Regions from separate parts of the Homo sapiens genome. Here region 2 is linked to region 1. Evidence: promoter capture Hi-C in 16 types of primary human blood cells and fetal thymus (Javierre and others, 2016). All regions are on one chromosome and are shown on one strand. The core of a region is centred on a gene start or on the middle of the fragment in contact, and the rest is flanking DNA. Distances in the headings are between cores, read along the strand shown.

Region 1 (4,623 bases), core at 1,114-3,613:
TACTGTGGAGTTCATGCCCTTCAAGCTGCACCCTTGTACTCTTGATACCATTCTCTTCTCTCCCACTTCCTTCACTTCTCAAAACAAGTAAACCAACAAAAGGCCAGACAAAACCAAAATACAAAAGACATTCATTCAATATATATCTACTGATTTCCGTGGCAATACAAACACTGAGCAAAACGAATACTTCCTATTCTTCAGGTCCAAAGAAGTAAAACTTTTGATCCTAATTTAAGAAGTACATGATTCTCTTCTCCCCACCTCAAAAGAGTAAATAAAAAAAAAAAAAGTTAACATGGTTAATAATGGCTTTTAAAAATCTGTATTATTTTAGAAAGCATTAGTGAAAATCTGATTTTATAAAGTACTTTTTTGGAGACAGAAATTTGAACAAAAATTAAATTATTTTTAATAAAGTCTGTAGATGAAGGAAGGTTAATTCTGAAACTGTTACTATTCGACTTTTAATGAACAGATTTAATATTTACCAGCATCTCTACTTAACCATGTTATTACTCAAAATGACAAAATGTGTACTATTTAGCTTCAGCTTCTTTCTTCTTCTTGGCCTTTTAAAGGACCATTTTTCAGTGTTTTGCTAGTGCAGTCAATGAGCAAGCAACTGAGCCTAAACACAGTGCAGAACTCCCAAATAACCACACACAATCAAGTTACTAGGAAAACAAGTATTACAAGAACCAGGCACGGACTTTGTAAAAACTCATCACCTGAAAAGGTTACATAGGATAAATATAATCTTGACTCAATCAAGTTACTATATTGAAAAGTGCTTCATAAAAATAATCTAGTTACAGTATTCCCGCATGATTCTTCTAGTAATTCAGTACCTGTTACGACAGTGAAGTAACCTGCTGATGCTGTGTGGCTCAGTCTAGTCAAATATTATCAGCCTACTGAAATGTGACTCATTTATATAGTATTGAGATAGAACAGTAAAGCTTCAGGAAAAGTCTAAGTCAAATAACACAGAAATCTTAAAGGACATTCCCCAAAGAGACTGTCTCCTGCTTTAGAGAACTACCCTATTTCTCACCCAATAACGAAATAAACCAATTAAAAATATACACGATCTTTTCTTAACTACACAAGACATTTCTTTAAAAAAAAAAGAAATATTTCCCTTGAGATTACTTACAAGACATTAAACATAAATCAGATCTCCAAACACAAAACATAGCAGCTAAAAATAGTATATCTGTTTCAAAGGCTGAGGCAGAAGCCCTCCAACCGAAAAAACTAAAATTAGGTTTTTTCCATCTCTAGATCTTTAAAATGAACCTTCAGCATTTATGAGGTACACAAATCAGTGTCCACATATTCTCCCAAACTAGCTGGTCAGAGAAAACCTAATTACTAAAATCTTCAGAAATACAAACCCACCGTCCTCCAAGAGACTCATGTAATGAAATTCCTCTTCATTCTGGCTAATAACCAGACTAAAAAACAATACTACTACTAATAAAGACCTTTCTCCAATTAATTTATTCCGTAAAACTCAAACCCACCGAAAAAGACCACCATACTCTTTTTCAGGAAGCAGAGATAAAAGCCTTGTACAAAAGCTGTCAGGTGGGCAGGCAGGTAGGGCTCCATCTAGGAGACCAAGAATCCGAGCCCGGAGTGGGAGGACGTGGTCACACCGGAGGGTAGAGGAGGGGATCCAGACCTAAGCGCGGCCCCACCCACAGAGATAGCTATGAGCAGAGCTAGGAGGGCAACTCTCTAACCCTAAGCTCTGCCCAGACCCGTGCCCGGTTCCGCGCTCCCAGCCTCGCTCCTACCCCCAGCCCTGTGGAGGGTCCGAGCATCGCTACCCTGGCACCTGCTCAAACCCGTGTCTGGGAGGAGGGGAGGCTGGGGCCACTGACAGGGCCTGCGGGCCTGACCTCGCCGCCGCCTCTGGCGGACTTGAGGGTCGACAGGAGCCCCGCGCCCGCCCGCTCAGCCACCCGCCCTCCAGTCAGGGCAGGAGCCGGCCAGCGAAGCCGAGGCGTCCGCTCGGGCCCCGAGCGCCGCAGCGGCGGGAAGGTCACCGGTCGCAAGAGGCCCCGACCGTGGGCAGCGACGACGTCCAAGCTACCTTTGGCCTCGCAGTCGGCGCAGTACTTGTTGTCCTCCTCCCTCAGAAGCTTGGATAGGATGAGCTGGTGCTGCTCGTTCAGCTTCTGAGCCTTCTCCCGACAGGAGCGCGTCGCCATCTCGGCAGCGGGGCGGGGAGCCTGGGGCAGCTACGGCGGCGGCGGACGCTGGCTGGAGCCGGGCAGAGTGAACGCACCTGGCGCCGCCGGGACCGCGGGCGGACTCAGCCCAGGAAGCGGCAGCGGCAGCTGGAACGGGAGGAGGGGCGGCGGCGGCGGTGGCGGTGGTAGCGCCGACGTGTCCCGCCTCCTTGACCGGCCTGCCGGCACGCACCACCCTAGCCGGCGAGGGGAGGGGGAGGGGGACTGGGTCGCGCCGAGGCTTCCGGGTGGCGCGGAGGAAGGAACCCGGGCGCCGAGCGCGCTGCGCATGCGCCGAACCTACGGGGCCCGGGCTGCCGAGTCTTTTTGCAAAAAGGCCTTCTGCCCAAGGTGATTCCCGAAAGGTAGCTGGCACTGCCTCATACGAGCTTTCCCCCCTTTTGAGATGTGATGGTCCGCAAGGGCCTCTAGTAAAACCCAGTAATGGAAGACCTTTTACAAGAAGCCTACTTTGACTTGCCCATTTGCCTTTGCTCTTGCTGGCACAACATTGGAAATGCAGAAATAACTAGCGACTGGGTGGGTTCATTTACTCATTCGAGGTTTATTCGCCTGCAGTTTAGAAGCTGGAGACACGGATGGAAGAAAAGAGGAAAAACGGTCTCTTACATTTTAAGGGCGAGAAATAATCTAGTAGTGACATGTATTAGGGGATAACATTTCATTGAGTGATTACTCTGTTAAACGAACTGTTAGCTCATTTAACCCTTTCCCCAACCTTATGATATTGTTATCCTCATTACACAGGGGAGGAAAGTGAGGCATAGAGGAGTTAAGTAACCTGACCAGATTACAGAACTACTAGTGGAGGAGTTGAGATTTAAATCCAAAGCAGTCTGGCTCCAGAGTCTGAAAGACCTGGCAGTAAGCCCTTCCATAAGGGGGAAAGTGTGACCAGGAACCCAAGTACTAGGCGGTGATACTTTAACAAGAAGCTGTGTAAATAGTGATCCTTAATGCAAGAGAAAGAGAACTAAAGAAAACACTTTTCATTGGAACCCAGACCCTAATCCAGGCTCATGAAGTTTGAACTCCGGGTGACGCAGTTTCGATGATTTGGCATGTTGTATATTATGAGGAAGTTCTAATATGGGGCTTATGCAAGCCAAATAAACACAGTCCTTGCCTGCGATGAAGCAGATGCTAAGAAAGGCAATGAGCAAGAGTCGGTCTTACACTTCTTAGTAAGGCCAATTTCTAGCCCCTGTCCCTGCATAAAAGTGACCCTCATTGCTACCTAGCCCTGTTCTTGGCACAGGGGCTCAAAAATGTTTCTGGAATTAAATTGAATGGATATGGCAATGAAGATGCTCAGTAATTAAACAAATTAGAGCTTATACTACATAGCTCTGACAAATAACTACTAGGGAGATATTGGTGAGTTCCAATGAACAGAAAAAAACATTATGTGGGAGGTAGAACTTACGAGCCTTGTCCTGAAGATACGCTGGATTTAGATGGGGACTGGGGAGGGAGATATTAAGAAAGAGCAGCTTGCACAAAAGCATGAAGACCTGAAGTACCTTGGAAAACAGACTGGAACAAAAGGTACTACTTTTGAGATAAGGCTGCATAAGTAAACTATGATAGGGTTATGGAAGACTTGGGAAGCCAGACAAAGTAGTCTGGCCTTGATGCAAATTGACAGTAGAAAACCTGTAGATTTTTGCCAGGCACAGTGGCTCACGCCTGTAATCCCAGCACTTTGGGAGGCCGAGGCAGGCGGATCACCTGAGGTGGGGAGTTCGAGACCATCCTGACCAACATGGAGAAACCCTGTCTCTACTGATAATACAAAATTAGCCGGGTGTAGTGGCGCATGCCTGTTTAATCCCAGCTACTCAGGAGACTGAGGCAGGAGAATCGCTTGAACCCGGGAGGCAGAGGTTGCAGTGAGCGGAGATCAGGCCATTGCACTCCAGCCTGGGCAACAAGAGCAAAACTCCTTCCCCACCCACCCCCCCCCCAAAAAAAGAAAAAGAAAACCTGTAGATTCTTCAAGTAGGATAATAGCATAATAAAAAGGATCTTTTGGGAAAGTTAGTCCTGCAGTAACCAGTAAACAAACACCATTTTTTGAGTACCTCTCCTCCCTACAAAAATTCTGTTCAGCACTGTGAGGACTCAGAAAAACAGAATACAGGTTTACCACCAAAAAACAACCTTCAGGATGGATTGAAGGGTCACAGCAATGTCCAGTACAAATACTTGCGTGCCACACGTATAACTTTAAATAATGCAGTAGCCACATTTAAAAACAGAAAAAGAAACATAAAATACATTTTACTAATACATTTGATTTAACTCAATGTATCCAAAATATTTTTGAGATGTAATATAAAACATGGCATATTTTCTT
Region 2 (4,623 bases), core at 753-3,252, 300 kb after region 1:
GGACCCTTTCTCTCATCCCAGTCTGATACCTTTCTCCAATTTCTGAAATATCAAGCACAGCCATAGACCTAGTTTCCCACCTGCTTGACAGGGGAGTTGTTATAAGAGTTTGGAAATACCTTAGGGAGGAGGCTATTCTTTCATCTATGTGTCCTGAGTGCCTATAATCATGTCTGGAACATAGAAGTGTTCAATGAATGTTTGTTGAATGAATAAATAAATGTATAGGATGAGGAGAACTTACCCACCTAAGGACCTGACTTAGGGGACGAGAGTGAAATGCAAGCTTGATCTCACCTCTTGAATACTGGTCATTGAGCTTAACTTTTGCCCTAAAGATGGATGATTGTCAGCCTTTTGTAGGACCTCAAGAAGGATTTGAAGAAACTAGATATTTTTACCAGCAAAATAATTCACAGCACACAAATGATTGCACAGAATTTCAGTGCTTTCAGAAGTCCTCTGGAAACCTTTTTGTGAACGCCAGGTAAATATCCCCTGTTATACACATTGAGGAGGCATTACAAGTTTTTAAATCTGGGAATGACATGATGAAGATAATGCTTTAAGGAGGTGTTTAGTTTAGACAGGGGCTGGGAACTCTAAAGAGCTAGGAATTCTGGGTGTAAGGTGATGTGGGGCTTGAATAGAGTGTGAGACAGTGTGAGTGAAAGAAGTGGGCAGATATGAGATATTCGAAAGGAAGGAGAGAGGGGCTTGATTATTAACTGTATGAAAACCAATAGATAATTATTCTGTACTCTTGAAATAAGATCCCTGAAGATGCTAAAGTCTGATCTGTTGATAAGATAACTGACACAAAACCCACCACCTGTTTTTAAAGAGTGATATTGTCACATATAAAATAAATTAATATTTCCAAATCTGTTGAGGGATTTATTGGGAACAGTCAGTTTGCATGGCTACATGTCCACTGACTTGGTCACTGTGGGTTTGGGAATTTAGTGGGAGGGAGCAGAAGTAGAAGGAAAGTGTATCTTACAACTTAACAAAAATTTTAAACTGGTAACTTTCCCTTCCTCCCTCTATCCCTCCTTTTCTTATTTTCTTCCCATCTCTTTAATATAAGGCAGAATATATTTTTCTGTAAATTGTTTTTAAAACCTTTTTTTTCAAATGCTATGTATCTTTTTCTTCTATTTGATGCTCAATTCAAACAAAATCTCTTTCTGTAAAACCTATGCATAATGCTGTTGGACTTCTGTTGAGTTCAGGTTGGTAAGCTCTCTCATACCTCAGTAATTCCAAATCTGAATTTATGATATTGCTAGTGTGCATGGAGCATGAATAACTCTGTCTAGTACTGCATTAAAAACATGTAAGATTTAGAAGATATCAGGCTTAGCATAAATTAAGAATAGGTATTACATGTGGCCTGTAGGGATAAAGCCGAATAAATTTAAGTGTGTGAGAGAAGATTAATATAAGCTCAGTCACTTGGAAATTGCTTTGATTACACTTCTGTCAGAAGGTGGCTAAAAATGGTCCCTTTTGCGGCTTATTACATTTTCTGCAACTTTCAATCATTTCCCCCTTCTGTTTTTTGGTTTCTTCTCCCATTTCACTTTCCTTTGCTCTTGTCTCTGAGCAAAGACACCTTCTAAGATGTATCTCTTCATTTGAGTCCTTAATCTCAACCTTTCACTTCTCTTCATGAGAACAGATCTGTCTATTAGCTCCCCTGTTTCTTGCATTGCCTGTTTCTTTCTTTACTGGTTCCTTCTCAACTATTTATAAGCAAGCTCACACAACTTGTTATTCTCTCATACAATCATTCTCTCTTCTTCCTTTCTCTGTTTAGATATCTCCAGTGTAGCCCATTCTTTGCCTCCTGTGCCTCACTTCCAGATCTATTTTTGTCTTAATCACAATAGGCTAGATTATGTCATAATAACAAAAAACTGCTGAGCTCTCAATGGCTTAATGAAACAGAGACATATCTCCCTTTACATTGCAGTCTGTTGCAGGCTGGCCTGGTAGCTCTCCTACACCACTTCCCTTCCAGCGGCAACCCAGGGGCCAGGCTGCATCCAGCTTAACACTGCCATGTTGGAGTTGAGTGCTTTGTGTTTAATCAGCTAGCCTTAGGAGAGAGTCAACATGCAGAAGTCACACTTGATTTTAACTGCTATACCAGAAGGGACACCTCATCTCCCCTACATTCCATTGGTGAGAACATGGAAATTTGATGAACACTACTGGTTTTGGTCTCAGCCACTATTTCCATTTGTTCAATATCATATTTCTGCTCCTATGGATACAACGATAGAGGCAGGAGGCAGAGAAATTCTAGGCAGAAAGGGCGGGTCCCTGGCAAATGCCCCACCCTCCAGCTGAAAAGCCTGAAACCGCAGCCAGAAGTGAGAACTTACATCCCTGTTTTCCCACTTGAATGTTGCCTTTTCCAAAACCACTCATTGCCTGCCCTGCCCTCCATCCTGGGCTTATAAAAAACCTCATACCCAGCTGACAGAGAGAGGAGAAGCAGCTGGACATCAGAGACTATAGCTGGATGTCGGGGAGAAGCGGCTTGATTCCAGAGGGACAGCTTGACCGTGTAACTTGGGAGAAGAATCTGGTTGGAGACTCCTGGACTTCAGGAGAAGATTACCTTCCAGCTCTGTCCCCTTTTCAGCTCCCCTTCCCACTGACAGCCATGCCCATCGGCAATAAAATTTCCCACATTTACAATCCTTCAATTTGTTCATGTGACCTCATTCCTCCTGGACGCCACAGAAGAACTCAGGAACCACGAGTGCAGATACAAAAGGCTGTCACACTGACCCTTTGCCCTCTCTGGCAAAAGGCAGCTGCCTCACACCAAAAGGTAGAGGGTCCACTGAGCTGTTAACACTTAAGCTGTCTGTGGACAGCAGCACTAAAAGAGCACTGTAACACTCCCTCTGGGACTTCAGGGGTCACAGGTACCCTCCCAGATGTTGCTGTTGGGGCCTGCACAGACTTTGCTCCTGCTCACACCCAAAAGTGCTTGCCCTGGCTCCTGCACCTGCTCACCTGCATGCGCCTTCCCACGAGGGGTGGAGCGCAGTGGCTCCAAGTGAGTGGAATTTGCCACTGCCAGCACTGAAGTGGCTGGCTAGTTCCAGTGCCCGGGCACACAATTTCCCACCTTATTCGCTTGCGTGCTCCCTCCTGCGAGGAGTTGAGAACTGCAGGCTGAGGAAACAAGGCACCCCCTTTGTGAGTCCCATGAAGGGGCCAGGGAAATATCCTGCTTCACTACCTCTTTGAAAGAGTGAAATAACACACAGTGGCCTGGGTACCTCCACATCCTTCACGATGCAGCTGACTAGAGGTCTGGAAAGCAAGGATATGAATATAAATTGAATACTGTATAAGATCTAAAATATTAAACCGACCTAGACTTAACTGGATTTTTTTAATATTCGAAGTCACCAGAAAGCTATGGGATCTACCCAAGATGTTGTAAGGGGTCAGGAAAGGGAGATTTGACAAAGTAAGTCCGAAAGCAGTGAAAGGGAAGAAAATAAAACCATTTTATGTTTGTACTTTATTGGGTTCAAGACAATCCAATATGAAACCTGCATTTAGTTTACAGAATAATGAAAAATATAATTAGATATAAATAAAAGCATATATTTTTCATTGTTAGATTTAAGCTGTATGAGGAAACAAAAATTAATAAAGTTATTCTTTTGTCTGTGAATAAGCTTAAACAATGCCTTTATTCAGTTTAGATAACACAAAAGGGAACTTAATCACATTTTAAATCACATTCAAAGATAGAGCTTCTAAAAATAATTGAAGTTTGGTGAATGTCTTTCTGCTAAGAGTGCTGTGAAACTCTCATAATTAGATTAATGTGGTTAATCCCCCTGGAGTATTACAGTGAGTGTGAATCAGCCCTAATAATAAAATACATTACATCTAAACAAACTAAATGCCTTTTAATGTACTCTCAATGACCTCCTGAGTGAAGTTTTCAAATTTTTATAAATTTTCATTCACGCTTTTAACTTCTAGGGGCTTGAGCATGAATTATGATTCAAAGACAGAGTTTGATTAATAATGTACGGCTGTGGACAATTAAAAAGAACTCTTCCTTTACGGAAAAAAACACTTCAGGTATGACGGCAGTATCTCAGATAATGTTCAGAGGGCAGAAACGTGCCTGATACTTCATATCAACTCTCTCCTTTCTTAAGTCATCTCACTACTCTTGGGAAACGACTTGATTTTTAAAGATTGCTGGAGAAAAGGATTTCAACATCCCAGTTTAACCATCCTTCCTGCTACAACTAAAATTGTACATTATTAATTATACTGAACATTCTTCATTATGTATTTCTTAAAGTTAAGTCTATTAAATTCTTATAATCTTTCTTATTTATTATTCGTGTAAATTCTTTTGTTTGCTTTTTTTTTTTTTTTTTTTGAGATAGGGCCTCACTCTGTCACCCAGGCTGGACTGCAGTGGTGTGATCTTGGCTCACTGCAACCTCTGCCTCCCAGGTTCAAGTGATTCTCATGCCTCAGCCTCCCAAGTAGCCAGGATTACAGGTGTGTACCACCATGCTTGGCTAATTTTTTTGTATTTGTAGTAGATACAGGATTTTACCA

The links. Contacts are between HindIII fragments. The CHiCAGO score rates a contact against its expected background, and 5 or more counts as called.
Region 2: a contact is called between a fragment that was not itself captured here and the fragment with the promoter of SMAP1 in region 1, in 1 of 17 cell types (total CD8 T cells). The highest score is 5.4, in total CD8 T cells.

What each region holds. Positions count from the first base shown.
Region 1 is chr6:70,665,623-70,670,245 of GRCh38, reverse strand. It overlaps SMAP1 (small ArfGAP 1), which reads right to left and starts at 2,363. Exons shown (of 11, transcript NM_001044305.3): 1 at 2,105-2,363. The coding sequence starts at 2,222. RefSeq lists silencers at 1,622-1,681, 1,802-2,031, 2,182-2,581. The HindIII fragment of the contact is 2,958 bases long and covers 2,156-4,623 here.
Region 2 is chr6:70,362,501-70,367,123 of GRCh38, reverse strand. The region is part of intron 1 of LOC105377848 (a long non-coding RNA gene); the gene reads left to right. Among named protein-coding and RNA genes, the nearest start is that of LINC01610, 29 kb to the left of the region's middle. The HindIII fragment of the contact is 3,427 bases long and covers 289-3,715 here.